Linked DNA regions of Homo sapiens: regions 2, 3, 4, 5, 6 and 7 are each linked to region 1. Evidence: promoter capture Hi-C in 16 types of primary human blood cells and fetal thymus (Javierre and others, 2016). All regions are on one chromosome and are shown on one strand. The core of a region is centred on a gene start or on the middle of the fragment in contact, and the rest is flanking DNA. Distances in the headings are between cores, read along the strand shown. Region 1 holds the start of H3C12 (H3 clustered histone 12). Region 2 holds the start of H2BC4 (H2B clustered histone 4). Region 3 has its middle 2.2 kb from the start of H2AC8. Region 4 has its middle 1.8 kb from the start of H4C8. Region 5 has its middle 2.0 kb from the start of H4C6. Region 6 overlaps LOC105374986 (a long non-coding RNA gene). Region 7 overlaps H2BC6-AS1 (H2BC6 antisense RNA 1).

The links. The method cuts DNA at HindIII sites, captures the fragments that hold promoters and counts their contacts. A CHiCAGO score of 5 or more calls a contact.
Region 2: the fragment with the promoter of H2BC4 here is called in contact with the fragment with the promoter of H3C12 in region 1 in 12 of 17 cell types (total B cells, total CD4 T cells, M0 macrophages and 9 more); the score reaches 19.1 in total B cells.
Region 3: a fragment that was not itself captured here is called in contact with the fragment with the promoter of H3C12 in region 1 in 12 of 17 cell types (fetal thymus, total B cells, erythroblasts and 9 more); the score reaches 22.1 in fetal thymus.
Region 4: a contact is called between a fragment that was not itself captured here and the fragment with the promoter of H3C12 in region 1, in 8 of 17 cell types (fetal thymus, non-activated CD4 T cells, erythroblasts and 5 more). The highest score is 27.3, in fetal thymus.
Region 5: a contact is called between a fragment that was not itself captured here and the fragment with the promoter of H3C12 in region 1, in 12 of 17 cell types (erythroblasts, fetal thymus, total B cells and 9 more). The highest score is 22.0, in erythroblasts.
Region 6: a contact is called between a fragment that was not itself captured here and the fragment with the promoter of H3C12 in region 1, in 1 of 17 cell types (M0 macrophages). The highest score is 6.4, in M0 macrophages.
Region 7: a contact is called between a fragment that was not itself captured here and the fragment with the promoter of H3C12 in region 1, in 12 of 17 cell types (fetal thymus, total B cells, naive CD8 T cells and 9 more). The highest score is 30.2, in fetal thymus.

Annotation. Positions count from the first base shown.
Region 1 is chr6:27,889,293-27,892,130 of GRCh38, reverse strand. It overlaps H3C12 (H3 clustered histone 12), which reads left to right and starts at 1,305. Exons shown (of 1, transcript NM_003535.3): 1 at 1,305-1,816. The coding sequence starts at 1,339. The coding sequence ends at 1,749. RefSeq lists enhancers at 1,333-1,552, 1,069-1,713, 1,773-2,072, 1,714-2,358, 2,359-2,838. The HindIII fragment of the contact is 2,915 bases long and covers 1-1,789 here.
Region 2 is chr6:26,122,595-26,125,294 of GRCh38, reverse strand. H2BC4 (H2B clustered histone 4) reads left to right here and starts at 1,369. Exons shown (of 1, transcript NM_003526.3): 1 at 1,369-1,828. The coding sequence starts at 1,391. The coding sequence ends at 1,771. It overlaps H2AC6 (H2A clustered histone 6), which reads right to left and starts at 1,123. Exons shown (of 1, transcript NM_003512.4): 1 at 605-1,123. The coding sequence starts at 1,062. The coding sequence ends at 670. RefSeq lists enhancers at 747-956, 1,047-1,186, 521-1,206, 14-1,213, 1,457-2,196 and 4 more and a silencer at 1,220-1,585. The HindIII fragment of the contact is 15,442 bases long and covers 1-2,700 here.
Region 3 is chr6:26,217,686-26,220,612 of GRCh38, reverse strand. It overlaps the pseudogene H3C5P. Among named protein-coding and RNA genes, the nearest start is that of H2AC8, 2.2 kb to the right of the region's middle. RefSeq lists enhancers at 2,872-2,927, 2,897-2,927. The HindIII fragment of the contact is 3,747 bases long and covers 1-2,927 here.
Region 4 is chr6:26,282,408-26,285,107 of GRCh38, reverse strand. No RefSeq gene overlaps it. Among named protein-coding and RNA genes, the nearest start is that of H4C8, 1.8 kb to the left of the region's middle. RefSeq lists enhancers at 1-289, 1-733. The HindIII fragment of the contact is 1,969 bases long and covers 277-2,245 here.
Region 5 is chr6:26,236,928-26,239,763 of GRCh38, reverse strand. No RefSeq gene overlaps it. Among named protein-coding and RNA genes, the nearest start is that of H4C6, 2.0 kb to the left of the region's middle. The HindIII fragment of the contact is 583 bases long and covers 1,252-1,834 here.
Region 6 is chr6:26,259,018-26,261,717 of GRCh38, reverse strand. LOC105374986 (a long non-coding RNA gene) reads right to left here. Exons shown (of 3, transcript XR_926613.3): 2 at 1,311-2,399; 3 at 1-346. Among named protein-coding and RNA genes, the nearest start is that of H2BC9, 8.8 kb to the right of the region's middle. The HindIII fragment of the contact is 962 bases long and covers 817-1,778 here.
Region 7 is chr6:26,159,464-26,162,163 of GRCh38, reverse strand. H2BC6-AS1 (H2BC6 antisense RNA 1) reads left to right here. Exons shown (of 3, transcript NR_186648.1): 3 at 959-1,890. It also overlaps a transcript of H2BC5 not described here. Among named protein-coding and RNA genes, the nearest start is that of H2BC5, 2.7 kb to the right of the region's middle. RefSeq lists an enhancer at 842-1,593 and a silencer at 2,369-2,663. The HindIII fragment of the contact is 1,067 bases long and covers 813-1,879 here.

The sequences.
Region 1 (2,838 bases), core at 56-2,555:
ACGCCACTGCACTCCAGCCTGGGCGACAGAGCGAGACTCCATCTAAAAAAAAGAAAGAAAAAAAATACCAGGCGCGAGGCCCTCGCCTGTATTTGGCGGACTGACAGCAGAAGGAACACTTGAGTCCCAGGAATTTGAGATTTCAGTGAGCCATGACCTCGCCACTGCACTCCAGCCTGGGTGACAAAGCGAGACCCCGTCTCAAAAAAAGAAAAACAAAACCCAAACAAAAGTATTTCTGGTGATCATTTGCTCCTGTGAATATAATAAATGTTAAACTAACCTTTTTGTTGTCTTTATGGGTCTTTATCAATACCAGAACCTGGTAGTTCTTTGATCAACTAAAATCTCCATCCTAATAAAATGCTGTTGTCAGAACTACCCAGATTCACTGGCAAAAATCTAATCACTGACCCAAACCTGTAATTCCGCGCATGCTAATGAAATTAAGCAATAATTTACATAATTAATCCAATCAGCCATTGGATTGCATTAAACTCAGTTAATGAAGAGGTCAGATACCATTTATTGGTATCATTTAGTCAAGCACCTATCAAACTCCTTCCCCACACCACACTGGACAAAACTAAAGTTTTGGTGTTTTAGAGAATGTGCCAGCCTAAGTTTAAATTGTTTTTGTTCTGGGTCTTGGTACAGTCATTAAAAGATTTAATTAAGCAGTTACAAAACGGAACTACTTTTTGGAAATACTAGCAAATACGTTGTTCTACTGTATGTATTTTTACACGATCCGAAATAGGAAAAATGACCCATTGGAAATGAGTTTAAGACTACGACTGACCTACACAAATTCTAGGTCAGATTATCTTTTCATTGGGGGAATCTTAACATGATTGGTTGAAAACAATAAATAAAAGTGGCGCGGAGGACGAGCGCAGTGGCTCACGCCTGTAATCTAAGCACTTTGGAAGTCCGAGGCAGGCGGATAACTTGAGATCAGGAGTTTGAGACCAGCCTGGCCAACATGGTGAAACCCCTTCTCTGCTAAAAAAAAATTAGCCGGGCGTCGTGGCAAGTGCCTGTAGTCCCAGCTACTCCGGAGGCTGAGGCAGAATCGCTTGAACCCGGGAGGCGGAGGTTGCAGTGAGCTGAGATCGCGCCACCACACTCCAGCCTAGGCGACAGAATTAGAAGCCGTCAGGTAAAAAAAAAAAAAAAAAAAAAAAAGTGGCAGGAACCAAATGAAGATAGTATTAACAACCAACCAGGTTTTTCCTACAACAGTTCTGACCAATCAGGATCAGATCATCGTTATAAATTCTGGTAGAAGCCACTGCTCATTCAGCTGCTTGCTTTCAGAGCATAGCTTTCTCAACTATGGCCCGGACGAAGCAGACAGCTCGCAAGTCTACCGGCGGCAAGGCACCGCGGAAGCAGCTGGCCACCAAGGCAGCGCGCAAAAGCGCTCCAGCGACTGGCGGTGTGAAGAAGCCCCACCGCTACAGGCCAGGCACCGTGGCCTTGCGTGAGATCCGCCGTTATCAGAAGTCGACTGAGCTGCTCATCCGCAAACTGCCATTTCAGCGCCTGGTGCGAGAAATCGCGCAGGATTTCAAAACCGACCTTCGTTTCCAGAGCTCGGCGGTGATGGCGCTGCAAGAGGCGTGCGAGGCCTATCTGGTGGGTCTCTTTGAAGACACCAACCTCTGTGCTATTCACGCCAAGCGTGTCACTATTATGCCTAAGGACATCCAGCTTGCGCGTCGTATCCGTGGCGAGCGAGCATAATCCCCTGCTCTATCTTGGGTTTCTTAATTGCTTCCAAGCTTCCAAAGGCTCTTTTCAGAGCCACTTACATTCTCACTGAGGATAGCTGTCACACCATTGGTCGACTGTCTTAAATCAACTTTAAAGCAGGGATAAACTGGCGGAAAGTCGTCAAGGGTTGTTCATTCTGATTCCTTGCAGTGTCCTTTGTCTTCTAAGACGGTCCTTTTCACTTGTCCTCTGTGACCCATCTCACAAGGGTCTCACTTTCTCCGAGGAAAGTCAGCAAATCTATATCCAAGGTCAATCCGCTTCAAGGGGAAAGCCAAAGTCCTTCCTGCACATGCTGTCCTTTGGGGATAGCATCTCCAGAACCCCATAACTAACAATTAGATTACAGGTTAAATGAGATGCCATTTTTAACTGAAACGGGCACTGCCCTTGGGTCCCCTGGAAGCTTGCTGAAAATCACGGACATGAGGCCGGTTGATTTAGCACATAGACACGGGAGACTTCAAAATGAGGACCCACCCACCAATGAGATACAGAAGTTTATATATCACCTTGAGATTATAGAAAGAGTGCAAGCTTGGAACCTGGGAAAACAGATTATAGGAGGGAGAAAGGAAGAGACTTGGCTAGCAAGGGGGGCGGGTCTTGTTATGTAGATGAAAACACATAGCTAGTAGTCCTCAGAAAAAATAGATGGTAAATGTCTCTTGTCAGGGTGGGCGTGGTGGCTCATGCCCTCCACTTTGGGAGGCAGTGGAAGGAGGATTCCCTGAGCCCAGGAGTTTGAGATCAGCCTGGGTAACAGCAAAATCCTGTCTCTACGAAAAACAAATAAAAAGAAAGGTGGGTGTTGCAGCGCACAACTGTAGTTCTAGCTGCTCAGAAGGCTGAGGCAGGAAGATTGCCTGAGCCCACGAGTTCAAGGATGCAGTGAACTATGATTGCACAATTGCACTCCAGCCTGGGTGACAGAGCAAGACAGTCTCTTAAAAAATAAAAATAAAAAAGGATCAGACTCTCAGTTAATCTCTCCTAGATCCAGGAAAGGACTAGAAAGGGAAAGCCTGGCAACAAATGGAAATTTCCCCCACAAAAGAC
Region 2 (2,700 bases), core at 120-2,619, 1.8 Mb after region 1:
CCCCACTCTATTTCCTTTTCTGCCTGTAATGGCAACCTAGACGCTTGAGCTTCTTAAAATACAAGAGTAAGTTGCATGTCAGGCACCGTTCTACATTAGGGACATTAGTCTGTTTTACAGACACCTTTCAACTCCCTGGTTAACTTTTAGGTAATATACTCTGCACTTTAGCAGGAATGGGACCTATAACTCTCACAGAATTAGGAAAGTGAGGCTGCCTACAGCCTAAATTGAGAAAAAAATAGACGGGGGACTAGTCGGAGGACCAAACAAGGTTACCAACACGTTAGAGTTTTGCCTTCAATTTACATTTTTAAAGTAATCACAACGAAGTGTTTAGATCACGAGGCATCCCTGCATGTAAACTGTTAGGCACTAACTATGGTCGATCTTACAAAGCATTAACTAGAATATTTCTTTAGAGTATGATAGTACGTAACTGACCTACTATTACATACAAACAGACCAACCTTTAGTAACAGCGCTCCCCAAAAACCGAAAAGCAGTAATACGCTTTGCTCAAGGTTGGCATAAAATTAACTTACCTTAGTGCCTTTTTTCCTTCTACCTACAAGCAGTGAGGTTAGCTCTTCCTTTGAAACGGTAGGGGGGCTCTGAAAAGAGCCTTTGGGTTTGATAGCGTTTCCGGGAGCTCAGATACCTGTCAAATCACTTGCCCTTGGCCTTGTGGTGACTCTCGGTCTTCTTAGGCAGAAGCACGGCCTGGATGTTAGGAAGGACGCCGCCCTGAGCAATGGTCACCCGGCCTAGCAGTTTGTTGAGCTCCTCGTCGTTGCGGATGGCCAGCTGCAAGTGGCGCGGGATGATGCGAGTCTTCTTGTTGTCGCGAGCCGCGTTGCCGGCCAGCTCCAGGATCTCGGCGGTCAGGTACTCTAACACCGCCGCCAGGTACACCGGCGCGCCTGCCCCAACCCGCTCTGCGTAGTTGCCTTTACGGAGCAGGCGGTGCACTCGGCCCACCGGGAACTGGAGACCAGCGCGAGAAGAGCGGGATTTCGCTTTGGCGCGAGCTTTGCCTCCTTGCTTACCACGTCCAGACATTGCAATCAGACAAAAATCACCAAAACCAGCGGCCTAAGCTCACGAGAAAACAAACAAAATCAAGAAATATGTAAAACATGGCCGCTTTTATAGGTAGTTCCTGGGGAGTAAATCCGACTTTTTGATTGGTCGGTAGCAAATGCTAGTCAGATAGCCAATAGAAAAGCTGTACTTTCATACCTCATTTGCATAGCTCTGCCCACGGATGACAACTGTGCAGTTTGTCTTCCAATTAACTAAGAGGTACTCTCCATCCCTCATTAGCATAAAAGCCCTATAAGTAGCAGAAATCCGCTCTTTACTTTCGACACATTTCTGGTGTTTTAAGATGCCTGAGCCAGCCAAGTCTGCTCCCGCCCCGAAGAAGGGCTCCAAGAAGGCAGTGACCAAAGCGCAGAAGAAAGATGGCAAGAAGCGCAAGCGCAGCCGCAAGGAGAGTTACTCTGTGTACGTGTACAAGGTGCTGAAACAGGTCCATCCCGACACTGGCATCTCTTCCAAGGCCATGGGCATCATGAATTCTTTCGTTAACGACATATTTGAGCGCATCGCGGGCGAGGCTTCCCGCCTGGCGCATTACAACAAGCGCTCGACCATCACCTCCAGGGAGATCCAGACGGCCGTGCGCCTGCTGCTTCCCGGAGAGCTGGCCAAGCACGCCGTGTCGGAGGGCACCAAGGCCGTCACCAAGTACACCAGCTCCAAGTAAACATTCCAAGTAAGCGTCTTAACACCTAACCCCAAAGGCTCTTTTAAGAGCCACCCAGATACCCACTAAAAGAGCTGTGGCCAGACGCCAAATTTTATTTGGCGGCGGAGGGGTATTAGAATATAGGAACTGGAGAGGGGTGGGGACAAGTGTTGCAGCTTAGAGAGGGACAAAGGGTCCTGAACCCGAAAGAAGCCAGCCATTAAAAATGGCTTTGGGGTCAATTCGTTGTGCTTAAATTTAAAATGGAGACAAGCGGCCATTTTGCTAACTCGGCGTTCCCGGAAGAAACCGCAGGCTCGCTTAGGTTTCAGACCCAGCTGTCTGTCCCTGTCTACGTCGCCAGGATCAACGGTTGCCGTAATGTCATAATTTCGCCACCAGCTTCTAGCCAATAGGCTGTCCTGTCATTTTAAATATTAACCAATCGAGGGAAAGCTGTTTTGAGACTCTGATTTACATAGCGGACCGGAGTGGGAACCTGGGCAGTAACTGCCTAAGGAAGGACTCCCCCTCTGTTTTCGTGGCGCACACCTTCGTAGTATACTGAAGGGTGTGTCTCCTGGGTTTCCAACTGCCCCGGTAATAGTCTTTTAACCTAATATGCGTCAGTTTTGATAACAACACTAAGGCAGTACAGAACTAAAGATGTAAGCACTGCGCCAGATGTTGCTTCATACATCTTATTCTATTCAACTGGTTTATTCAAGATTCAAATCAAATCAAATTTTGCTTGAATCCCAGTGCTCAGTCAGCCATAAATGGTGTGTTGCCTGATTGAAACTTAAAATCTCCGTAGGGGGCTTGTAACATGCAGACAAGTTTGAAAGTTGCTTTAGGAGAAGCCAACTCTTAACTGCTGGGTAAATTGACAAGCCTTCGAACACTGAACTGAAGGCCAGTAAGGACTAGGCGCTGGGTGGGGGAGA
Region 3 (2,927 bases), core at 230-2,729, 1.7 Mb after region 1:
AGGGATAAAACAGGAATTTTTGAGGATTGGGTTGGAGAAATATACATATTCAACAGGTTATAGGAGGAGCTATGAATATTCATGAAGGACACCCAATCAGATGTGTATTAGGTTTACATGTATGTAAGATATGTCCCATGATCACTTTGGGGTGAAGATTTAACATTTAAATGAGTTATAATTAGGTCCTATATATAAAACTGAAATGTAGGGCAGAAGTCCATGATCTGCATTCTCAGGAGACTGGTCACAACCAGTTGTGGGCCTGCAGTCATTTATCAAGAAACTCTATGGTCCTTAATATCTGTCTTGTCTGGACCACCATGGAGGAGGGTGGAAGAGGCCAGATAAAGTAAGTAAAAGGGCTTTCCGGTGTATTATTCCCTCAAATCGGACTTTGAGAAAATCTAGCAGTGATTAGAAAGGGGAAGAGGGGTAGAAACAAACAGGATGTGCAGCCTCCATCCTGTCATGCCTGGGAACTTAAACTTTTGGGGTCTTTTAGCCAAAGGAGGGTCCATTATTCTGTCAAAGGGGTTTAGAATTTTCATTTCATCCCTCACCTCTTTGAACATGCATTCCTTCCTTCTGGGTATTGGGTATGGGACAGCTCCATCTCTGGAATGGGGTCTTATGACCTGCAATTAAACAAGGTGGATCAAATAATTTCTCTGTGTCCAGTTTTTACACGAAAAGTTGGAAGGGAAGTTAGAGTAATATTTTTAGTTTTTGTGGTTGGCTTTGGGGAAAAAGGATTCTGGTTGTCATAAGCCACCTTGGGAAACCGGAATTCTAGTTTCTATGTCTAGCCTCAGGGGAGAATGGGACTGAGAGACAAGAGGGCAGGAGAAAGTCACAGAAAAATTTTGCTTCTGAGGTTGCTTCTTTGGCCTTCATTTTGGGGTATTGTTTCTGAGCCCCAATTTGATTGAGTAAAGAATGTCAGGGAGTTATACTATGGGGCTTCATAGACATTTATCTTGCAATTGCTATATTTTAATCGTGTTTTAGTGAAAATTTTATTTAAGAAACATTGTAAGACTTGTGAGGAAAAAAGGGAGGGGGAAGAATGTATCCCACTATAAAAAATTTATAGTTTTTACAAAGTTTGCAGGGAAATGTGCTTACATCATCTCACAATTTACCATTGATTAAAGGTATCAAACTATCGAAGTTACTTCTTGGAGGCTTTTGTCTGGTGATGCAAATAATTTCTGTTATTTGTATCACCAGAAATTATTTTTGATGCAAATTATTTGTGATGCCAATAACTTCTGTTCAGTGGAACACATATAACTGCAATTATTTAGAACCCTAGGGGCATTAATTTTTTTAATAATCTCATTCAGCAACCTTGTCCTAACATTTAAGAAAGGGCAGCTTTTCCCTTAAGTAGCTCAGTGACTTCTGGTAGCGATGAATTTCAGCATGATTCAGGGCCTATATCTGAGGGACACCTTCAAGCTGCTGGTGGCCAGAGTGCTCTTGCTGGCTGCCTTGGTGGCCAGCTGCTTAGGAGGCTGTCTGCCACCAGTGGACTTCCGTGTGGTTGGCTTGGTGCAGGCCATGACCTTTCATATCAGATTTACAGATCACTTCTCTTTATAGGGCCTGGTGTGTGATCCAATTAGATTTGAGATTTTTTACAGAGAAATGTGACTGGATTTCTACTAAAGTTGAATAATTAATTGTGCTTTACAGTGTAGTCCATTTATAAATTTAGGTCATAAAACTAAGTTTTTGCTGCTGGGTTTTTTTTGTTTTTTTTTTTTTTTCCTTTCCTAAACAGGATCTTGCTTTGCCCCCCATAGCTCGCTGCAGCTTCGAACTCCTGGGCTCAATCAATCCTTCCCCGCGTAATTCTCCCAAGTATCTAAGATCTCAGACTGAGCCACCAGGCCAGGCTTTTTCTTTTCTTTTCTTTTTTTTTTTTGAGACGACGGAGTCTCGCTCTATTGTCCAGGCTGGAGTGCAATGGCATGATCTTGGCTCACTGCAACCCCCGCCTCCCGGGTTCAAGCGATTCTCCTGCCTCAGCCTCCCGAGTAGCTGGGATTTCAGGAGCCCACCGCCATGCCTGGCTAATTTTTTTGTATGTTTAGTAGAAACAGGGTTTTGCCACGTTGGCCAGGCTGGCCTCGAACTCCTGACCTCAAGTGATCCGCCCATCTCGGCCTCCCAAAGTGCTGGGATTATAGGCATGAGCCACCGGGCAGGGCAGGCTTTTTACTTTTTGTGGAGGTGAGGGGGCTGTCTCGCTTTATTGCCCAGGCTGGTCTTGATCTCCTGGGCTCAAGCGATTCTTCTGCCTTAGTCTTTCAAATTGCTGGGATTACAGGTCTGACCTAGGGCGTCAGGCCGTTACTGCTTAGTTTCGTTTAGTGTTTATTTTAGAATACTGTGTTAATTGCTCCTTTTGAAAAGAGAAATCCAACAAACACAATTCTCACTAGAGGAATGTAGTCTTTTTTTTTTTTTTTTTTTTTGAGACGTAGTCTTGCTCTGTTACCCAGGCTGGAGTGCAATAGCGTGATCTCGGCTCACTGCAGCCTCTGCCTCCCGGAGTCAAGCGATTCTCCTGCCTCAGCCTCCCAAGTTGCTGGGACTACAGATGCACACCACCACGCCCGGCTACTTTTTGTATTTGTTTAGTAGAGACGGGCTTTCATTATGTTGGGCAGGCTGATTTCGAACTCCTGACCCTATGATCCGCCCTCCTTGGCCTCCCAAAGTGTTGGGATTACAGGCATGAGCCACTGAGCCCAGCCGGAATGCAGTCATCTTTAAAACTTAAAAAGCCCGCCCTGAAATGCTAATGGGCAGCTATCCTTCTTTGTTCTCTCGTTTCTGTATTAATATTTCACCCTTTTCTGACAAGTGCACATGAATAAACAGCCTGTGTATTAATGATAAATTTGTATACACAG
Region 4 (2,700 bases), core at 12-2,511, 1.6 Mb after region 1:
AGACATCTTGTTATCCTGCTTTGTTCCAGATTTTTGCTGAGAAGTAGTTACTGTGCACATGTGTAGATTTGCAGGTAACGTTTAATTACTCGTGCTTAATCTCGCATGTTTAGGATTTGGGCATAAAGTACTTAAAGCCACTGTTTTCTGCTTGAGGGAAGTTGGTATGTTGAATATGTTTAGCTTTCTTGTGGCATTTTAACACTAGATATCAGTGAGTAAGCTGGATTGTGACAGTTTATAATTCCCGTGGGCCTTCCTCCTTCAGTTTAAGCTTGAAGCGTTCGTAAGGTTCTCAAAGACTACAGAAGTTGGAAACTTCGCGGAGAGACTGCAAGTTACCCTTTCCAAAATGGCGGGAAGGGCTAAAAACAAAGAAAGCTCGCACCCAGACGGCGGGCCTTAAACCAAGGCGAATCCGTGAGCGCAACACATCTGCGTGAGTAGGATCGCAGACCCAAGTCCAGGCGGCGTGCGCGCTGCTGCTTTTGACTTGGTGACAAAACTCGTCTACAAAAGGCAGTGTGGGGTAACAATATAAATGTTCACTTGAGAGCTTGCAAGTATTGTTTCCAATAGACTTAAAATGTGTTTTTGAATATTACGAAAATATTAAAAGGTAGGGTACCGCTTAGTGAGCAATATAGAAACATCACCATAACTTATTTTGTTGTTGTTGAGACGGAGTTTTGCTCTTTCATCCAGGCTGGAGTGCAGTGGCGCGATTTCGGCTCACCGCAACCTCCGCCTTACAGTTTCAAGCGATTCTCCTGCCTCAGCCTCCTGAATAGCTGGTATTACAGCCGCCCGCCTAATTTTTGTGTTTTTAGTAGAGATGGGGTTTCACCATGTTGGCCAGGCTGGTCTCGAACTCCTGATCTCGTGATCCACCCGCCTCGACCTCCCAAAAGTGTTGGGATTACAGGCATGAGGCACTGCGCCCGGCCACGAAAACTTAAATTCTTAACCAGCAATGATCGCCTTTTGAAAAAGTACACATTCAGGCATCAGGACAATGATTTGCTAGAGACCAAACTTGTAGGAGATTTGGATTGGCTTTTTTTTTCCTTTTTTGAGGCGGAGTCTCACCTTCGCCATGCTGGAGTGAAGTGGCGTGATCTCGGCTCACTGGAACTTCTGCCTCCCGAGTTCAAGCGATTCTACTGCCTTAGCCTCCCAAGTGACTACAGGCTCGCGCCACCACGCCCAGCTAATTTTGGTATTTTTAAGTATAGGTGGGGTTTCACCATGTTGGCCAGAATGGTCTCCATCTCTTGAGCTCGTGATCCGCCCGCCTCGGCTTCCCAAAGTGTTGGGATTACAGGCGTGAGCCACCGCGCCCGGCCTGGATTGGCTTTTCTTACGGCATCATTTTACTTGGCTTCTATACTCTGTCCTGAGCAGAAGTGACTTTTATATACTTAGTTGAAATCAGGTTAATATGCTTGTCAGTTTATACAGAGACATATGTCTGGTTTATCTACGTTGAAGATAATAGGACAATTGCTGCTTTAGGATGATAGTTCCATTGTAAAATCAGATTTTTCCTCTTTGTGGTCAGCAAGCAAATTGTAGGGTTATAACTTTGAAATCGAGAAAATCAATGGAGTTAGGGTTTCATCTTTTTTAAAGATATGCACTTGTACATTAATATGAAAAGAACGATGTTATCAGAGCTAAGGCACTGGTTTGTATGAGGATATAAATTTAACAACAAAAATTGAGCACATAACGTATGCCAGGTACTGTTCATGGCTCTGAGAAGTATAGGAGTGAATGACAGTGAACAAAACAGTATTTTCTGTATGCATGGCGTCTGTTGGGTGTGCTTTCACACGCAAAGTAAGTGAAACTATCAGATGGTGCTAAGTGCTATCACTGAAACAGGCTAAAGACGTGTGGAGGGAGGAGGTGATGTTTAATTAGTTATTTTTTTTGAGATAGGGTCTTGCTCTGTTGCCCAGGCTGCAGTGCAGTGGCGCGATCTCGGCACATTCCACCTCCGCCTCGCTTGGGTTCAAGCAATTCTAGTGTCTCAGCCTCCCGAGTAGCTGGGATTACAAGCATGCGCTACCACACGCAGCTAATTTTTGTATTTTTAGTACTTATGGGGTTAGGCTGGTCCTGAATTCCTGCCTCATGTGATCCGCCCACCTCGGCCTCCCAAAGTGCTGGGATTACAGGTGTGAGCCACCGCGCCCAGTCGAGAACGTGATAATTTTAAATGATAGAGTCATGGAAAGCTTTACTGATAGAGCGATGGTTGCAGAAAAAAAGACGAGAGAATATTCCAAATAGACGACCAAGTAGCAAAGCCTGGAGATAGCAGAGAGTTATTGTGTCTGGGCAAAAGGGCAGAAGAGGTGCAGAGGAATGGAGATGAGGTCTGAAAGGCAAATGGAGGCGAGAAGGGTGCAGAGGAAAGGAGATGAGGTCTGAAAGGCAAATGGAGGCGAGCAGTTCCTATATGGGCGGTGTAACTACTTTGGCTTTTATTCCTAGTGAGGTGGGAGCCACTCAGGGTTTTGAGCAGAGGACTGAGTTGATCTGATTTATATTTTAGAATGAGCTGTCTGGATGCCTGATGAAGAATAAACTGTGATGGAACCTGGATAGGAGCAGAGACCAGTTAGGAGGGTACTAAAATAAAGGAGTTTAGATGGCAGTGGCTTGGACCAGTGTATTAGTGGTAGAGGCTGT
Region 5 (2,836 bases), core at 294-2,793, 1.7 Mb after region 1:
AGCTTTAATTTTTAAATGTGAAGATTCTTTGAAAATGTATTTTTACTAATTTTTTTTTTTTGATACGGGGTCTCACTCTGTTGCCCAGGCTGGAGTGCAGTGGCGCTATCTCGGCTCACTGCAACCTCCGCCTTCTGGGTTCAAGCGATTCTCATGCCTCAGCCTCACGAGTAGCTGTGATTTCAGGCACGCGTCGCCACACCTGGGTAATTTTTGTATTTTCTTAGTAAAGACGGGGTTTCGCCATGTTGGCCAGGGTGGTCTCGAACTCCTGACTTCAGGTGATCCACCCACCTTGGCCTCACAAAGTGCTGGGATTACTGGCGTGAGCCACCACGCCCGGCCATTTTTATTAATTCTTAAAATGTAGCAATACTTCTTAAATTTGGCCAATCATGAGACTTAGCGTTTGGCAGAGACATATACATTCACATCGTTTTTGGCATTCCTAATAAAGAAAGACCTCTAGTAAGGGAAACCAATATTAATTGAAGTTTCATTCTTAGTTTTTCAATGTATAATGCAATATCTGAGGTGTAAAGATAAGGAATCCCAGGCTTGAAGACATTATCCTCTAATAAATGGCATTGTATTGTTGGCTCGATTCTGGAGTCTCACTACCTTGCTACCTACCACTGCTTTCATGCCACTAAAGCATACATGGTAAATCATGGTGAATAAAGGTTTGTAAATTAACAAAAATAATACTAATAAATTCTGTGAAATACTGTCCTAATAAAAGATTCCGGAAGAAGTGTTCTACACACAGATCATAGGGTATGTGTAGTAGAAAAATTCAACATTAACTCTTACAGTCTACTGCTTCACATTCATTGCCTCCTATATACTGCAAGGGTAACTTAAAAATCCCGTCTCTGCTGGTGCCTAAAAGCAGTGAGAAGATTATTCATTTTGTGGAGTTAAGAGTCTACTTAAATTTTGGCTTAGGTTCAGTTACCTGTAGGAATAGACACAAGGATCTCAAGTGCTCTCCTTTTTGAGGTAGGCACCAAACAAGCATCATTCATTCATTCAACAATTTAATGTCCACTACATGCCAAGAATAGTGTACAAATACCAGGTTTACAAAGATAATCACATTTATTCTCTTAAAGAACTCAAAAGTTTAGTAAAGGGAAAAGTACACTCAGGGTTAGGGGGCAGATATCAGACCAGCATACTTCTACTTACTGTCAGGTATTTAAGGGCGGAGCAGCCATATCCCAGCTATACTGGCATCACTCTGAAGCTTGTTAGACATACAGAATTTCGGGCCCAACCCCAAATCAATGGAATTGATATTACATTTTTAATGAGATCTCTAAGTGGGTGGTAGGTATGCTCTTCCAAGTTTGAGAATAATTGTTTTAAAGCTCTGCTGTCCTATATTAGCCACTAGCAACATGTGCTCATTTTTATTTAAATTAATTTAAATTAAAAATTAATTTGCACACTTACTCTAGCCACATTACGGTACTCAGTAGCCACATATGGTTAGTGGCTACCTATTGGACAGTGTTAATACAGAATATTTTTATCATCGCAGAAAGTTTTATTGGGCTGTATCTGTGATAAGGGGGTTTCTTCTGAAGAGCTTCTAATCCAGTCTAGAAGGGAGGAGGGAGTTTGGTGGATGCCTGAGACATGTAAAGAGAAAACTGTAAGTTTGAGTATAGTAGTGGCCTTCTTAGGAAATAAAATTAACACAATACTGTTGTACTTGAAGAGGAATTTCAAGGAGCCAGTGTCCTCAGGTAAGACTACCTCATAGACGGTTACAATCGATGTGATTTCTCATGGACTTTTTGAACACGTTTGATTCTAACACAAAGCTTTATTTTCTATAATAGTCTATATATGTTTTCACCCCTTTTAATATTTATTCTATATAGTTTCTTTTTTTTTTTTTGGAAATCTTTAAAATCTGAATTGTGTGATGCTTAAGCACAGTGTCACTGGATTGATCTATTGAATACTACCTACAACTCTCATAGTCATTTACTATGGTGGTGGTGGGGATGGGGGAGTTAACACAAAATGAAGAGAACACTGGGCCTTAAGTTAGATAGCTATCACTTATCTAACTAGTTTTTCCTAGCTACTTTTTGCATCTATAAAATAAATGGTTCCAACCTCAGTGTAATGGGAAATCTACTGTTTTAGATTATATTCAGATTTAGGATTCCAAAGCAACACAGAACTCTTTTTGAGGGCTACCAAAGTAATAGGTGAAACTTTGCAGGACTTCAAGTTTACAGTCCATGGGGTGATCCAGCTTTCAGGAACCTTGTCCTTGCTACAATTACAGAGAAGATAAGTACCAGGTCCCAACTTATGTAGCCTAGCCCCTTTCCTCTTTGAACATCTGGCGAACTTTGTTGGTGAAACTGAGTCTCAGTTATTGCCCTCCAGAAAGAGCAGAGATTAGTTAGCCCAATGCCTTTTTACTTACTGAGATCCTAAGTAGCTATGGGAACCAGTCAGTGTTGCACAAGAATGAAATGGTGGCATCTGTTAATTGACTATATCTAACACGGTGAACAATTCCAACAATTATTCAACAACTATTAAGACTACAATAATGATCAAAATAATAAACAGTAAACAATCTGAATTTTAATTGTACCTTTACGTCTAGGCAATATAAAGCTATGGTCCCAAAAAAAAATACTTAGAGTATGCTTGTGACTATCACTGTTGAAAATGATATCCATAATGATGCACCGCCCCTGCCTCCAGAAACCTATAAAATGCTTCCCTACTGGAATTGTGGGGTCCTACTAATCCAATTCTATAAGTTTAGCTTTTTTATAAACCACATTTGTATTTCAGTGGT
Region 6 (2,700 bases), core at 48-2,547, 1.6 Mb after region 1:
ATATTAGTTCATTTAATGAAAACTCAGAGTAGAGACTAAAGATAATTGTATTCTTTGGCAGGTTTGGACTTTAGGCAGATAAGGAACTTCTGAAAACAACTTCATCCTGTGCTTTGGGAGACGGAAAGGATTGAGAGACAGGAGGGGTGGGGAGAAGGTCAGAGAGACCTTGTAGCTTCTTCAGTTCAGCATGTCAAAGTGCAATATTTTGGGATATCAGTTTCTGAGCCCCAGCAGTGTCATATATCTTTGATTTTAGATATCCTCTCTTGCTCTAAATCCATTTCCAGAAAATCTGCTTATCTTCTGAAGTTGCTGTGCAGAAGCCCCCATTTTGTTCTTGATACTGGTAGAAAGAAAAGTGAAATAGAAGTCAGAATTCTTTGTTAGACCCAACTCTAACTAAGCTTGAGCAATCGCCTCATCATTACGAAAATCCATTGTTTCTATTTTGTAAATGAGGAAACAAGCTGAATGTTTCTGCATAATGCCTAAAGTCATCCAGTTAATAAAAATGATGTAACAAATTTCAACCCGGGTAGTGGGTCTCAAAACTCTCCTAATGTTAAGCATATTCCACTGCTGTGCTATAGTTTGTGAAAATAAATAAAATATGATGTGATGGTGCATTCCTGTAGCCCGTCCTACTCTGGAGGCTGAGGTGGGAGAGTCATTAGAGATATGAGCTGGAGGCTGCAGTGAGCTATGATTGTGCCACTGCACTCCAGGCTGGGTGACAAAATGAGACCTCATTTCCTTAAGAAAAAAAAACACACAAAAAAACCAGCTGTTGGAATTCCCAAAACACATTAAGCTTGAGAGAGATGAGATAACTTGAGTTCTCTTTTTTCTTGTTATATACAATGTCATGTCCAGAATTAAGCAACATTAGGCATTAGGGACAAAAGTCTCCTGCCTTTTTTTTTTTTTTTTGAGACGGAGTCTCACTCTATCAGCCAAGCTGGAGTGCAGCGGCATGATCTTGGCTCACTGCAACCTCTGCCCCTTGGTTCAAGCAATTCTCCTGCCTCAGCCTCCCGAGTAGCTGGGATTACAGGCACCTGCCACCATACCCGGCTAATTTTTGTATTTTTTAGTAGAGATGGGGCTTCACCATCTTGGCCAGGCTGGTCTTGAACTCCTGACCTCGTGGTCCACCCACCTCGGCCTCCCAAAATGCTGGTGTGAGCCAACTTGCCTGGCCCTGGCTTCTTAATTAATGATCCTTGTTTAACCTCCCCTTTGTTGTCCTGCTTTGCGGGGTCTGCCCCACAGACACTGGCTGACTGATGGATGAAAGGAGTACTCACACACAGGTATGCAGTGTAGCAGCTAGGGGACTGCCTGGATCAAGTGGCCAAAGTGCAGCCCCCAGAAGCTGGAGCTGCTTGCTTTTATTCAGTGCAGGCAGAATGCCGAAAGCCTGGAGCAAACACAATCTGTGGGTAATTAACATATTGTTCCCCTTTCAGGGGACGTCAGTCACACGGATGTTCAAAGTTCAATTCCTGGACAACTTCAAACGAACAAACCTGATCAAGATAATTTCACCTTCACCCCCTTGCACATACTCCTCACCCTCTGCTTCAGGGTTAGAGAACAGCTGCCTTTAGCTATTCTTCCCCGAAGCTATGCAGAGCCTTCTGACCCTTCAGAAGGCCTGCTCCTTTCCTTACAGTTTCTCTCACCACTCTGACTGATCTCCTACATCTCCCCCTTTTCTGTTTTTGCATCAGGTTTTGTTGATTGAAGAATACAGATGTGTGCAGTGACAAGCTTGACAGGTGCAGCGGTTACAGCTTGTGTTCCAGCTTTGCATCCCAGAAGCAGTAGGTAACATAAGACAAGCGTGAGTATAATCAGTAATATTCATTTCCAATCAAAGAGTGACCCACAGGAGTGGGGGTCTATCCAGGAGAGGTGATTTTGCACATTGTTCTATAGGGCTGTTACTGAGGAACCCCACCAGGGGTATGTTTATCCCTCCTACCCAAGCAGTCACATTGGTAGAAGCTGGGAAGGGGGTGTCTGCCCAAGTAACAGGGCGGAAGAAAGGTGGATCTAGAAGATGGGCCTAATAGAGTGTAGCAGGTACGAGTTGCAGGCAGAGTGAGAGAATAAGAAAAACCAATACCCTGCGAGTGTTGCAATGTACAACGGAGGGCATAGCAAGGAACAGATTATCTGGAGTGAATGGTGTTTGTGTCTGGAGCAGGATTTGCTCAGCTTCCTGAGTTGTCTTCTTCAGCATAATGTCCGGGGCCTGTGTCGTCCGAGGAAGCCGCATCGTTTTGGGGCTGCAGGTCCTGCAGGGTCATTTCCTTTATTTTTGGTACCGGGTTGGGTTCCAGCCATGCCATGGTATGGTTTCATATGTCGCGCAGAAATCCAAAGAGGACCTGAGGGGGTGTGAACACAAGCATATCCTCTTCCCCACGTTAACAAATCATTTGGACCTCACCATAGCTTACTATTTACATCTTTCCATAAAAAGTAAAGGTTTTATGTTTTGAAAGGTTTTTGCAAAGTGCTTTTCTATGGCTGATTGAAATTTATCGTTTAAATTTAGGAAGTTAAGGGTAAATAAGCCTTGTGCTAGTAGTGTTGCAGGGTCCTTACTCATATTCCCCCTTTTCTGTTTTATGGCTTGTCCTTATATAGAAAGGGGTTCTTTTCCTGAGTTACTTTGGTCTTTACTAT
Region 7 (2,700 bases), core at 97-2,596, 1.7 Mb after region 1:
GTGCTTTAGTGTGAGGTCATATGTCAATATGTAACAGAAGTCACAATCTTTTGAAAATCAGTATTACATCTGTAAAAATTTGGAGAGCTTAATTAATTCACAGCACACATAGTGACTCCCTTTTTTTGTATCATTTTTCTGTTTAAATATTTACTTTGTTAACCTAGGCTTGCTTTGATGAGCAATACATTAGGTTTCAATTTTTATTTTCTTATATTATTTTTAATTATTAGTAATCCATCCATTCTAGAAAATTATTGGCCATGATCTTTTAAATCTCACATTTGCATCATTCTCCCTGATTGTTTCTTCTGGTACTGTGATTAGGTCAACGTCAGATCATATTTTACTACTAATTCTAGGTCTCTTTTCATTTATTTATTTATTATTTGAGACAAGGTCTCACTCTCATTGCCCAGGCTGGAGTGCAGTGGTGTGATCATGGCTCTCTGCAGCCTTGATTTCCCTAGCTCAAGTGATTCTCTCACCTCAGCCTCCTGAGTAGCTGGGACCACAAGCACGCACCACCATGCCTGGCTAATTTTTTGTATTTTCAGTAGAGTCGGGGGTTTGCCATATTATTCAGGCTGGTCTCCAACTCCTGGGCTCAAGCAATCCTCCTGCCTTGGCCTCTGAAAGTGCTGGGATTACAAGCATGAGTCACCTTGCCCAGCCCTAATTCCAGGTTTCTTAAACTCACTTTTGCATTTTTATCTCTGCATTTCAGATAATTCCTTAAGATCTGATTACATAGTTTATTAAATTTCTACCGGTAGGTCCAATTGGCTGCTGTTAAACACATGCAGTAAGCTTTTCATTTCAATTTGTCTTATAATTACATGTTTATTTTCTAGAATTTCTATTAGGTTCTTTTTTCAAATCTATGTGGTCACTTTTGGTATTTCCTTAGTCCCTCAATATATTTATAAGACTTTTTGTTTCTTTTTTTTTCCTTCAGATGGAGTTTCACTCTTGTTGCCCAGACTGGAGGACAATTGCGTGATCTTGGCTCAATGCAACCTCTGCCTCCTGGGTTGAAGCGATTCTCCTGCCTCAGCCTCCTGAGTAGTTGAGATTACAGGTGCATGCCACCATGCCTGGATGATTTTTGTATTTTTAGTAGAGATGGGGTTTCACCATATTGGCCAGGCTGGTCTCGAACTCCTGAGCTCAGGTGATCCGCCTGCCTCAGCCTCCCAAAGTGCTGGGATTACAGGCGTGAGCCACTGTGCCTGGCCTCTTTTTCTTTTTTCAAAAAGACACTAGTCAATTCGAGTCTGTTTTTTTTTTTTTTTGAGACAGAGTCTCATTCTGTGGCCCAGGGTGGAGTGCAGTGGCACGATCTTGGCTCACTGCAAACTCCACCTCCCGGGTTCACGCGATTCTCCTGCCTCATCCTCCTGAGTAGCTGGGATTAAAGGCGCACACCACCACACTGGCTAATTTTTTGTGTACTTTTAGTAGAGACGGGGTTTCACTATGTTGGCCAGACTGGTCTCGAACTCCTGACCTTGTGATCCGCCTGCCTCAACTTCCCAAAGTGCTGGGATTACAGGCATGAACCACCGTGCCTGGCCTCAAGTCTGTATCTTGTTAATTCTCCCTTTTCATTTCCATTGTCTGTTGCTTTTTTTTTTTTTTTTTTTTTTCAGAGACAGGATCTCAAACTTTTGGCCTCAAGCAATCCTCCAGCCTCAGCCTCCCGAAGTGCTGGGATTACAGGCATTAGCCACCACGCCCAGCTCCCATTGTCTGTTGCTTTTGTTTTCATTAGTCATACTTCTAGTTTCATGATGTTTAATTTAGATTGTGAAGCTCCTTGTGCATTTTTGGGGGGATATTTTAGCTGTGGCAATTTGTTGAGGTGTAAAATGAAGCTTCTTTTCCAGAGATGACTTGTATTTGTTTCTACCGGGTGCTCAGGGGCACAAAACCAGCCTGGGATATGCCTAAATTAAATTCTCAGCTTGGGTGTTTGAATCCCTATGGTATGAATGCCAGGAACAAGTAAGCATCGATGGCTTGTAGTCCAAGCCTTAGCAGTAGAATCTACACTGCTCAGAACCCAACTTCGGAGCTGACTTTTTTATTTGCATTCATCTGTGATGGGTTTGTATGTGTGGTTCATCCTTCTACTCTTGAGATGACAGATTTAGGTCTGGTGTCTCACCTTCACCTAAGAAGATATATCAGGCTCTATACCCTGGTCAGTTTCCACGGGTTGAGTAAAAGCCAGCTGTAGTGCTTGGGGTTTAACATGGGCCAAGTCCCTGGCTCTGAGTTTACTTTCTTAGACCCTCTTTCTTACTTTTAAGAATTTAGAAAATATTACTCAGGCTTTTATTTATCCGTCCAAGTACCACGCTTGCCATGTTATGGAAAATGTATCCCATAATCCATCATTTCGTGTTTGTTTATGAGGGCATGAGGACAAACTTCTAAATTCATTCCTCTTTTAGACAATGATCATCCATCCATCACTTAAATTCTCCCTCTCAGCCAACATTTGACTCCAAACCTAGCCTCATCCATCTCACATTTTTCACGTCTCAAGTATTTGTTCCTTTCCTTCTGGCCACTCCCTCCTAGTTCCCTCCCGACTCTTTTCCGAGATTCTTTTTCTCCCGCAATCATCCATTCCCCAGCAGTGAAAACCTTTTGTCATCATCCTACCTTGTGCAGCAGAAGCTACATCCTGCC